2 separate regions of the Homo sapiens genome follow, and region 1 is linked to region 2. Evidence: promoter capture Hi-C in human tissues and cell types (Jung and others, 2019). All regions are on one chromosome and are shown on one strand. Each heading gives the region's core, a stretch centred on a gene start or on the middle of the fragment in contact. The rest is flanking DNA. Distances are from core to core; before and after follow the strand shown. Region 1 has its middle 240 kb from the start of LINC01889. Region 2 holds the start of GYPC (glycophorin C (Gerbich blood group)).

The links. Contacts are between HindIII fragments. The study calls those that stand out against the background at their distance.
Region 1: a fragment that was not itself captured here is called in contact with the fragment with the promoter of GYPC in region 2 in 1 of the 25 tissues and cell types used here (lymphoblastoid cells).

The regions. Positions count from the first base shown.
Region 1 is chr2:125,466,354-125,472,701 of GRCh38, forward strand. No RefSeq gene overlaps it. Among named protein-coding and RNA genes, the nearest start is that of LINC01889, 240 kb to the right of the region's middle. The HindIII fragment of the contact is 6,757 bases long and covers 1-5,504 here.
Region 2 is chr2:126,654,098-126,660,419 of GRCh38, forward strand. It overlaps GYPC (glycophorin C (Gerbich blood group)), which reads left to right and starts at 2,061. Exons shown (of 4, transcript NM_002101.5): 1 at 2,061-2,215. The coding sequence starts at 2,167. RefSeq lists enhancers at 1,711-2,000, 2,794-3,633, 3,091-3,340, 3,531-3,760 and a silencer at 2,091-2,460. The HindIII fragment of the contact is 14,870 bases long and covers 1-6,322 here.

The sequences.
Region 1 (6,348 bases), core at 876-3,375, 1.2 Mb before region 2:
TATGCCAGTGAACAGTATGGCATTTGGTACAGTAAAAGGCAAGTAGATAAATGGATCCACACATGTATGGGAACTTGGTGTATGACAGAGAGATTATGTGAAATCAGTTAGCTCCATTTGTACTTTTCAATAGATTAAGTCCTATAGATTATGTTCCATTAAAAAATACATACAATAAGAATTGTACTGGGAGTAGGCATTCTTGTTACTCTGCCTGGATCTCTCAGGGTTGCTTTTGTCATTTCTGCACATTCCTTCTCAGTGTCGCTGTACTTTTCCAAAAGTCAGATTCTGTGCCTCTTTTAGGTGGACCAATTCAAGGCTCCCAAAGCTTGGAATTGCTTGGCTTTTTTAATTTTTTTATTTTATTTATTTATTTTTTGCTTCTCCTCAGCATCAGAGTCATAACTCCAGCTATTTCCCTTTTGAGAGGAAAAAAAAAAAGCCAGGTGCACTGCTCAAAGTTCTACCAACTGGGAGGATTACCCTTCACTACTGCCCTTCGGAATGTCCCCGAAAAAGGCACCATTTTCGAGTGCGCTTGCACATCATGCAGGGCCATCTGTAAATCAGGTCCGTGTATTCTCTTACTCTGTTAACTGTAGGGAACCATAGTTGTGAGACCATACTAACAGCATGGGAGAGAGAGAAAAGTGTAGCATAAGCTGAGGTCATAGGAGTTTGTGCCACTTCCTCACATAACTGAATTGTTGCCTCAGGGCCTGCTGGAGTACTCATGCAGTGCTGCTGTGCACACCCAACTTTAAAGCTTAGTGGCTTAGACAACCCAGTTCATGTTGGGCAGCTCAGGTTATCTGGTAACTTGATGGCTCGTGGCTAAGTGTCCAGTAGCTCAGTAGCAAGCCAAAAGCGCTATCAGAAGAAAAGCAGTTATCCACTCAGACAGGATAACTATCCAAGGATGGAAGGCTTTTCTCCAAAATCTGAAGGGTCTGCACTTTGATTTATTGGTGGGGGCCTGACAAAGGCTCCAAACAGCATCTTTAACTGCCCCTGATGCTTTCAGCACTATTTAGTCTTCTGGATCATACGGCCGCAGTAGAAACTATCTATCTCTGTCTTATATCACATTTCCATAGGGCCCCATTCAAAACTAGCAGGTTTTTTGGTGCATTTGTAGATGGGCCATGGCAGCACACTCCAATGAGGAATATGTTGCCTCCAAAATCCAAAATAGTTCACCAGATGTTGTATAGTTTTTTGGTTGTAGGAGAGGCCAGAAGCAACAACTTATCCTTCAACATAGAACAAATATCTTGACATATCCCAAACCACTGTATCCTCAGAAATTTCACTGTGATGGAAGGCCCCTAGGTTTTTATGGCATTTATTCTCCACCTTCTGACAGGTAAGTAAATAAATATCTTACCAATATGTCTAGACTACCTGCTACTGCTCACCAGGTTCAATCAGCATGTCATCATCAACATGATGGGTCGGCACAATGTCTTGTGGAAGGGAAAAGCCATCAAGCTCCCTGTGGACCGAATGTTGATAGAGTCTGAAGAGTTAGTACACCCTGACTGCAGAAAAGAGGAAAAATATAATTAAAATGGGAGACACTGGAACATGAAGGTGGACAATGTTAATGTTCATGGTTGGGTAGAAAAAGTAAGGTTGGAATATTAGAGGAGAAAGAAAATGAGAAATTAAGGACATAGAAAAAAAGTCTAACAGAATGCTACTTTACAAAAGGTAGGAGGATCAAAAAATCAAGTGAGATGTGTGTATAACACTAAATGCCACAGGTAAAGCTGGGATCGTGGGAACTAGAAGGGCGGATGAGTAAAGAATTGAAAGAGGTATCGTCACTGGTAGAACAAAGTCTCATAGAAGATAGAAGATAGGGGTTTGTTGTCACATGAACCTACACAAATTTTTAATGTTAAGTAGTCATGGTGTTCATTCCTAAACCTCTTTCTCATTCTCTGTTGATTTTTAATAGTTACTTTTTAAAATTTTAACTGAATATATACAGTATCTTCTTGAATATTTACAAAAGCATTAGTTAGATTTTATTAAATGTTCTTATGTTCCCTCAACTTTCTTTATTTCCTCTTAATTTGTGTATCTTGTTATCTTACTGATAATTTTTCACATCTATATATTTCTGTGGTTCTATTTTTTTAAAAATAAAACTTCAAGAAATAGTTTGAGACAATATTTAATATTTAACCATGCATATATAATTTATATATCCTTCATTATAGAAATAGTTCTGAAATTAAATGTCAGCACTATCAACTAGAAAATATTTTTGTTACCCAACAACTGAAGGCTTGTGCTATAGGGAAACAAAATTATCTCAGCTCTTAAGAATATTACAAGCCAGCTGGAAAAAAAATTATATAATACATTTACAAATACTAGTGACCCAAACAACATTCTTAATTGTTAGTTTCTCCTCCCAAACCATTTTTTATCTCAAACCATTATCTCTCAACCGATTTATTTGCAGGAACTTTGTCCTGCCTCCTTACCTCAATCATTATCCTTTGCATCCTGCTTAGTTATCAAATTAACCTTAATGTTGGACTCGAAATCATGTGGCTTCTCTGTTTCCATTTAATAGAACCCAACTTTACTAGACTTTCAAAATTCCAGAATTCTATTAACCAATATTTCTAGGATTGTAATTAATTGTTAAGAATGACAGTAGCCAGAGAGATTTATTTTCTCCTCAAATTACCAAGGCAGTTTTCATCCATATATAGAAAGTAGCCAAATTAAGTAATTTTTGGCTCATACACTACTAAAGTGTTTTCCTGGGTTGTGTTTCCAGAAAACCACCTGTACTATATATAAATAAATATAATCTGAAAAGAAAGTGAGGAGAAATTTAGTGATCAAATAAATATAGTGACTTCCACAACCTTAAAAAGGCTAATGTACATTGGAAAATGCGGTGGATTGTTCAGATAGCATTTCCAAAATTTATAAGACAAGGAAAATTTTTCTTGTAATTTTATCGCTTTGTGAATCGAGACAAGAGTGATATTCAAATCTTTTTGTTCTACTCCCTCTTAAAATTTTGATAAGTGCTGTACTTTCTTACACATTTAAAGTTTGCATCTAAAATGTTTCTACTTCAGTTTAATTAGTTGTATGGATATAACATCCAACCCTGTAAAAGTTGACATTTTTGTAATAAAACTGTTGTATTGCTTCTTAAAATGCATCCAATAGACTCTAAACACTATAACAATTTGCTATTCATAACTATTCATTTAAAATAAATGTGAATAAGCTCTTCTTTAATACTTAGAAATTGTATATATTTTTATCTTTTTGAACTTGTATTTTTGTTCTACTTGCTACACAGCATTTTAGCCTAAAGTAATGTGTCATGCATAAAACTCTTTTATCTTAATACATAATGAATGAGTTAACTTGCCTTTCAGAAACCTGCAATATAAGTCCTGCAAGGCCTGCCATGGCTCATGCAAAGCAAGATCACCACTTCAGCCTGCTGCCTCTTGGGCTGCAATCTCTACTACTTGCATGAGACCATTGAGACTGAACCCTCACACAACAAGTTAAACGAAGCAGCTTTATCACTCCCAGGTAGGCAGCAAAAGACAGCAGAAGCCTAGGATTCATGGAGAACCTGTTCTCCATGGCTCTGGAAACTGCCCAGGATGGATGGAGTCTTGTCTGCCTCTGCCCCCACCTGCACCACAGCTGAGGGACGCTGAAAAGCAGCCCGCCCTGGGTTTTATACCCTGAGGAAAAGATGACCACTGGGCTAAAGTGTTGCAGTATGTTCTGTTTCTACAGTGACAAGAGCAGGGCCTGGGCTGTTCCAGTCAGTCACTCTCTATCTCAGAACATTACAATATCAGCACATTCTGCAGTTATCCTTGAGAATTACAAGTGAGAAAGGGTGGAAAACTTGGTTGGTCCAAGGCCACCCAGAAAACTGTCCGAAAGCTCCCCATTTCCTAATGAAGAAAATAAAAATTTCTTGGTATAAATTTAAAGATTCTGTGATTGCCAATAAACTTTTCCATCCCTGTTTCATGATAGTAACTTTTCTTTTTTCTACACACTAGCACAAGTGAAATTCTCATGGTTCCTATCCTTGAGCTTCTTCAGGTACCTGTCTATAGGACCCTGTCTATTTTTCCAGAATGCCTGTTTGCATTTCTTTACTAATTCCCCTTTATTTCTGACTACTAAAATTCTGTGTACCTTCAAATCTCCACTTTGCACTTGTATGACTGTTCTCATACAATCATGAAAACTTCCTTTTTCTTTCCTCGAAAGGTAGTACTGTCTTGGTCCCAGTTACAAAACTTCTCTGAGAGCTGTCTCATGACACATGACATCACATTATTCTTCTTAGCTTAGCTATTTATATATTTGTCTTGCCTGTCCTACCTGAACACCAAGATTCTTGAAGCCTTAACACTTATTCCCGACCTTTTAAATCTGTCACAATAAGAGCATATTTATTTTTTAATTCAATCAGTAAACCTTTATTAATACATGGGCAAATAAGGTACTGACCTTGAACTCCCAATCAATAAAGGGCATTTTATCAGTTAGGTGTTGCCACAGTAATTCCGATTCAATAAATACAATCTCAAACTATCAAAAAATTACTACACATACATTTACTTTTTTCTCTCCTCAGTGTGTGAATTAGTTGGAGTTTAGCTAGTTTGGGCTGGATTCAGCCATGCTTGTCTCTGGACTGCAGGTCAGGCTAGAGTAGGCTTGACGTGTCTAGTTCTGAGAACTGGGATGAAGGCACAGCAGCTACACAGCTGACAGGGTATGTCAGCTCATGGTTAGGACAGAGCACAAGAGGACAGGCCCCACCACACAGCACATTTCAAGATGCCAATTATGTCAAATCTTGTTAACATCCTATTGGAAAAAGCAAGTCACGTGGGCTAAGGGCTGGGAAACACACAGCACCCATTGTGGGAAGGCTATAAATGTACATTACTACAAGAGAGGAAAGAATTAACATCAAGAATTCAATCTGCCATGACCATATAATTATTTGAATGAGAAGAGATTTATGAACGTTATGAAAAAGAAAATATCTTGTACTAGAAAAAATGTTGTTGTTATTGTTTTCCACAGAGGAGATGACATTATTGCTGACATTTAGGGTGAACTGTTTTCCAGGTACTGTGGGCAGAGAAGCACAGTAAAATAGCAGAGGCTACTGCTTACAGGCACAGAGCAGAGCATTGGGATGAGACAGTTGGAGAGATGCTTAGTGTCACGGGCTGGATGGTACAGCATCTGTGAGACAAGATGGAGACAGAGGTACCCAGTGTTCTGAATTTGATGCTCATCCCGTTCCTTGACAAGACATTTGACTTTTGTAGACAATAGGTTACCAAGGTTTATTTGGCTTTACTGTTAATGTTTTCTAAAAATTGACCTGCTAACCTGTATTATTCATTTAATACGTGTTTTTAAATAAGGGAATGAATAAATGGATAGTCACTTCCCTCCCTCCCTCCTTTCTACATTCTTTTAACAGGCAGATCCCTGAAAAAGGCTATGATGTCTTAGAGGGTTACGGAAATGCAGTAAAGTTACAAATTATTTGTACATAGAGGTGGAGGCAAATAATAATATAGAGAAAAAAGAAACACTCACTGAAGCAACAGAAGCAGACTTGGCTCAGCCTGGCTCGTGGCCTCCGACTGTGCCCTAGAGGAGCTATTTGCTCGAGACCTACTCCAGGTTGGCCTGGCATGAACACGTGACTCTCATCTTCAGTTAGCGTGGCTCAGCGTCCAGATCAGCGTCTGCGGACACCCCTCACCACAGTGGCTGCCCTGGAGCTCTGAGAGCCAGGCTTGTGAAAATGGAACAGAAAAGGCCACTGGCTTCAGCTTGGTCCTCTGCCGCCACCTGTGTGCTGGAAGCAGCCACCGCACCGGACTGGAAAGCGCCTTGCTCTAGGGCCCTGGATGCAAGGTCTGAGGCAGCCCTTGAGGAATATGGGAGAGGGAAAGAAACTAGGGGAGCAGAGCCTTAGAAAGGCAGGCTCCTTATCGCCCCGTCCTGCAGAACTTTCCTCTGTGAATAAATTCAGAGATCCTCTGATACAGTGAAGGGAAGAAGAAACACTAACACCAGCCCAGAGCTTCTGGCCCAGAAACACAGCACTGGGTTGTGGATTAATCCACACTGTAAAGAAACTTTGAGATTGTTCAGCTAGTTCCATCAGAGCAGAAAGGGCATTTTAGAAATGAAAGACTTGGAACCAACCCAAATGTCCAACAACGATAGACTGGATTAAGAAAATGTGGCACATATACACCATGGAATACTATGCAGCCATAAAAATGATGAGTT
Region 2 (6,322 bases), core at 811-3,310:
AGTTCTGTAACAAATGCTACTTCGTTCTTGTATCTGACCTCTGCAGTTTGTGGGGCTTTCAATTTTCACTGTTTAGTTCGTTAGTTTATTAATTTTTGGCTTATTTTCTGTAAGGAATTCTCTGCAACATTTTGATGCCTTCAACCTGTCTTACCCTAAGAAATTAAGGAAATCTCTTATGATTACGTCTAAGGCCAGTAGGTTCTAAATGAGTCTGTAAAAGTGACTTCTCTAAGTGTGCTGCAATGACCTAATGACTTGTCCGTTGTTACCTGGCAGAACTTTCTGCTTCTTTCCAACTTTCCAGCTGCATTTCAGATAATTAAAGTTATTTTCTCTCAGGACAGAGGAGCGGGACTACTGTTCCACGTAGACGTATGTGTATGTATTACCAAAAAAAAAAGTTAAACTGTTAAAGTAATCACGGGTGCAGTGGCTCACGCCTGTAATCCCAGCACTTTGGAAGGCCAAGGTGGGTGGATCACCTGAGGTCGGGAGTTCGAGACCAGCCTGACCAACATGGAGAAACCCCGTCTCTACTAAAAATACAAAATTAGCCAGGCGTGGAGGCACATGCTGGTAATCCCAGCTACTCGAGAGGTTGAGGCAGGAGAATTGCTTGAACCCAGGAGGCGGAGGTTGTGGTGAGCCGAGATCACGCCGTTGGACTCCAGCCTGGGCAACAAGAGCAAAAACTCCGTCTCAGAAAAATAAATAAATAAATAAATAAAAATAAATTAATCATTACTCATTGCTGTTTATTAAATGCCTTTTCTGTTCCCACTGTGATTCTACAATCACTGCCTCTGTAAAACCCCGGAATGCAGGTGTTCTTGCCTCCATTTTATAGATGAGGAAATCAAGACTCAGGGCTTCCCCACCAGGCCAAAGGCATTCTGTGAGTAGTTTATTTCAATTCAACATGGCTGTGCTGCACATGGCAGTTGGAGTAAAGATCTATCAGCATCGGGGGTTCTTCATGATCTAACTAAAGTGAATCATGAGTGCTTTCCCACTGCGTCAAGAAGGCCTGGAGTTTGTGCAGCCCGGCTAGAGGTGAGCAAAGCCTCTGTGTTGCAAATCTCCAGGGCGCAGCCTCTCATTGTATTCAATGCAGATGACAGTCCCAAAGGCACCGCCCATACATTGTACAGACAGCTGGCCTGGCTCTCCGGATTGTGCAGGATAGGCCTTAATGGCAGAAGGTAGGGGAGAGGTGGGCGTCACAAAAGTGCTTGGGGAACTATAAAGTAAACAATGAAAAGCAGCACAGGAAGGTTCAGACATCACACAGGAGAAGCACAGGGTGTTCCCCTGGGTGGGGATTTAAAACAAGGGCCTCAAGTTCCCTGCCCTTGTCTCTGGGCAGAAGGGGCAGATAATGCTATGATACATTTTTTGTAGGTGGTGCCATTTGACTGCATTTAACCAACAAAGGTATGTATCGAAATCCACGTGGAGATTTTCATGGCAAAAGTAGAGCGAATTCACAAACTGCACTGTGTCTGGCAGCTTCAGACAAAAGCAATGGGAACAAATCACGACTCTTGTCCAGCAATTCTTCCTGTTTTGGAATGATCTTTGCTCAACAGCCCATCCATGAGTACAGGGCCCCCAAAGGCCAACAAGACAGGGACTCTCTCCAGGGACAAATGCCCCGCAGCTGAGAGAGGCCGCCCAGCTATCCAGCGGCCGCGCAGCCAGCCAAGATTTCAACACAGGTCTGCCCTATTTGGTCACCATCCCCGACAGTGCTGGGCCAGGCCATCATGTCACATTGGGGAGTTTTCCCTGCACTCCAGGGGGAATTCTCAACCACAACCTCTGTATCCGGTAGTGGCAGATGGAAAGAGAAACGGTTAGAAAAGCGTGGTTCTTGCGCAGGAAAGTTGGAGCAAAGAAGAGTTCAGAAGTGGGCGGGTGTGTGTTTAAAAAAAAAAAAGGGGGTGGAAACCCCACCAGCCAAGTCTGCAGAAAAAAAATAAATGAAGTCTGCCTATCTCCGGGCCAGAGCCCCTCCCCTCGGCCCGCGCGGGAGGAGTGTGACCCAGGTGCCGCTTCCTCTCGCCGCCGAGGGTCAGGAGCCCGGGAGCGCGACCCTCCCCCGGCCCGGCCTGGCCCGGCCTGGCCAGTCCCCGCGGTCTCTGCCCGGGCTGACGCCCAGGAATGTGGTCGACGAGAAGCCCCAACAGCACGGCGTGGCCTCTCAGCCTCGGTGAGTACCCGCCGTGGGGAAGGGTCCTGGGGACCCACTGGAGGCCGCGGCCCGCAGCAGCCAGGGGCCGAGCCACGGCCACGGACGCCCTGGTGTCCCGGTCCGTGCCGGGCCTCCAGGCGGAGGAGGCGTCCGCTGGGCTCAGATCCCCGACTCCAGCCCCGGTTCCCCGGCGCCTGGGCTGCGCGGAGTCCCTGTCCCGCGTCCCGGACCCCTACGCGCAGCCTCCACGCGCTCCGAGCTGGAGAAGCCGCCAGCCCGCCCTCCCAGGGCGTGTCGCCCGCTTTCTGTTTCTTTGTGCGGGGCATGTGAAATGTGTGGGGCCAGAATTGTCTCCCTAAAGAACAGTTAGGTGAGAGTTCACATCACAAGTTGCTTCTGTGCTGCTCCCCAGCCAGGGTCCGACCGGCCAGGCTCCGGTGAACTCCAGGCAACTCCAGCCTTGCCCAGGGACTTGCTCGCTCCGCTGGGCGCCGCAAAGGCACACAGATGCGAGGGAATCCTGCGGCCTGGATCCTTTGGGGATTTGTAATTCCTCGCTGCTGGTTTTCTCTTTTAAACCATCACGTTTTCTTGCTGAGAGGAAATCATCTGTGATGAAAGTCTTTGTAGATGCTTGGAAACATTGCTGGGCCTCTCTCTGCCCTCTTCCTCTGCCGTTGGACTTTTGCAATAAAAACTACCATTTGATTTTACCAAAAAACGTAATGTACATCCCTCTTACCCCCACCCTGCCGCGGTCTGATTCTTAGAGTCTGTCAGAGAGGAGATACCCTGAGCCTATCATGTGACAATGATACCTTATTGATATGATAATGATATGGGTATTGGAGACACCAACTCTTTTATAAGTCTTTGAAATCCAGGGGGTTGTGAGGCCTCACCCCTCACCCCGCCTGAGCTTGGAGCTTGGCGTGGAGGAGTGCTGCTTCGGTCTACGTGTGTACACGGCACTCCATGTGCCTGTGGTTGTGCTTGCGTCAGCCTGGGAGTGCGCAGGCATCAGTGGTGCTTGGGAGCGAGGCCCCTCAGTCTGCACTGGGATCATCTGCACTGCCTATAAACAAGGCAGCCTCTCTTAGCTCCAGTTTCCTCATCTGCAAAGTAGGAAAGTAGGAATAATAACAGGAGATAACTCATCCAGCAGCACGAAGTGCGTATAAATGTCCCGGCACGGAGTCTGACACATCCTAAGTGCTGGATCCGTGCTGGGCATGTTTATATAATTGCACATGAGACTGTGGTTCCCGGAGCACGTAACTTGAGCATATGTTTATGTGTGTGTATACGGCAGGTCCTGGGTTAAAGGGACAGGAGCCACTGTCATTATTCCAATTCAGTCACTGAGGAGGTGAGGCTGAGAGGCATTCTCATGTCTGAAGAGGATGGGCTTGCCTGACCCCCGCCCCCGTGCCCAGCCCAGCCCAGCAGCCCAAGCAGTTCTCCAGGACTCAGGTTTCAGACCTTCAACACTTGCCTTGGGAGACAAACAGCGGTGCAGCCCTTGCTTGCAAGCCATTCCACATTAGACTTCGGATTGATTTATGGCAGGATCCCTGCTGTGCGAGAACTGCAGGGGGGGTGGGGGGCGGCTATTTCTTGCTGCTAACTCAGGCAGGATGTGTCTATATCCTGTCTCAGTTTATGTAGCTGCTCATCAGAGCCAGAGGTTAGAGCGGAGAGGACCCACTTCCGCCAGGCCGGCCTGCTCTGCTCAGCTCAGCTGGGCTAGGCCCCAATGCCACAGTTACTGCGCGTGAGTCATGCACAGCAATCCATTGCCTTGCCCTTGGATGGAAGGGGTCAAGGCTCAGTGAGAAGACGGCCAGGTTTGGCAGCTTTATATAGAATTCACCGCCTCTGGCAGAAGCAGAGGATTGCATTAAGTGCCAAATGAAATTCCACCTCAGCCATTGCTCAATTCCTCCAGATGTCACTGGCACTGGGAGTCACATGATGCTGGTGGTCAGCAGCTGGACCCTTCCAAGGGTGCCCGTGGTTGGGCAAGTATTTCTGGGGACTTGCAGAGCTCCCTGGGGAGCAAAGGGTTGTGAAGTACAAGGCATTCTGCGCTTGTGGTGGGAACAAGTGAACCCATCTGCAGTGAGTAGGAAGAGGTCCCCTCAACAGAGGTGAGAGGTTGGGCCAAGTCAAGTCAGTTTGCCTCTTCAGGTGGCAGACCTGTATGTACATCTATGCCTCAAGTGCCTGTCTGAGGCCACAGCCAAAACATCTTCCAGTAACTGAGCATACCCAGTGGGCCAACAAGCACGCTCTAAATACAAAACCAAACAAACAGTAAAGTTAACAGTGAATGAAGAGTTAAAAATAGGAGAAAGACACCTTCTCCCTACCTCAATGGCAATTACTTTATTTATTGAGGATAATCCTTCTAGAAGTAAATTTGCTGATACAAATATTTCTTATTTTACATAATAAAAATGCATTTTATATATTTTACTTCATCTTGTTTTTTTTCCATCAGAATATCTCTTAAAGGTTATACCTTGTTATTTTCTTTAATCAGTTCCTCTGCTGATGGGCATTTAGGCTGTATGCAGACTTCATTTAATTTTTTTAAACCACACACAGCAGTCCTGTGACAATGAGTAAGGAGGATTTTACATGCATGTGTCTGTAAACTGTTAGGATAAATTCTCCCACCTCAGCATTTGATTTCTGGGACAAAGTGTGTATTCATTTAAAATGTTAGTAGATCTTAAGAAACTACCCTCCTAAAGGTCACACCGGTTTCTCATGCTCACAAATAGCCTATGAAAGTCACTATTTCCCTGCGTCCTCACTCACACTGCATTTTTTATCTTGGCCAAACTGAGAGGTAAAACAACAAAACAAACGCTGTCACTTTGGAATGAGCCTCTGTAATTAAGTGAGACTGAGCATGTTTTCTTACTTCCATAAGAGGTTGTATTACTTTTCGGGGAAGTGTCGGTTGATGCTTTTGTCCATTTCCTGTCAGCACCCCACCCCCGTGAGGAAACGTGCCCCAGAAGTGAAAGGACATGTCCTCATCACATGACGAGTGAGGGGCAGAGCAGAGGCCAGAGCAACATCCGTGCTGTGGAGTCAGCCCTGGGTTTGACTGCCCTCCAATGTTCACCAGCTTTGGGAGAGAGAGGAAATACCTCAGCACCTCAGTTTTCCCATCTGTGAGTGGGAATGATAACAGCCACTTCCCCAGAGTCACCCGAAGAGCAACAGCAGAAGGGCCTGGACCTGCTCCCAGTGGCAGAGGCTTGGGAGGTGGCTTTTGTTAGCGAAATTTATTGGAGCAAACCTGGCCTGAGGATGCTGGTAATTTCAGGAGTCACCCTCCAGACAGCTGTTGTTTTTCGCTTTTGATAAAATAACAACAAACTTAGATGCCGAGCCCTGGTAAGGGGCTTTCCTGGGTCTCCCCTGCACACCTGCTATGATAGGCATTTTCTTTTCTTTTTCTTTCTTTTCTTTTTTTTTTTTTTTTTGAGACAGAGTCTCGTGCTCTGTCACTCTGGCTGGAGTGCAGTGGTGTGATCTCAGGTCATTGCACCCTCCACCTCCTCCACCTCCTGCGTTGAAGAGATTCTCTGCCTCAACCTCCCAAGTAGCTAGGACTACCGGCATACGCCACCACACCCAGCTAATTTTTGTATTTTTTGTAGAGACTTTCGGATGAAACACCAGAGGCTCGGGGGAGATAAGCCGCCATAGGGCACCCAGACACTGAGGGCGCAGCCAGGCTGTAGTTACAAACTGCCAGACCCCACAGGCAACTGAGGCCAACCCAAGGAGAGAGTTGCAGGGTATGTGGGCCCACAGCTTGTATGTGCCAGGCAGGGCCTGCTGCTGTGGCTCTGCACACTGAGGAACTGCATGCACAGACACTCAGGACCCGCCTGCCTCCCCCAGCTCCTCAGCCGGGCCTGTGTCCCACCCCAGTCCACCGTTGTGTCCATGCTGTGCTTTCTGTGGTCAGGCCTGGCATGCTCTGGGCTGCTGCTGCCCTTGCCCGCCTTAGCAGCTGGCTCGGGGTGGCCCTCGAGCCCTCCCTCACGCACCGTCCCAGGCTTGCTGCCTTTCCAGCTGCACCTCTCACAACTGTTCACG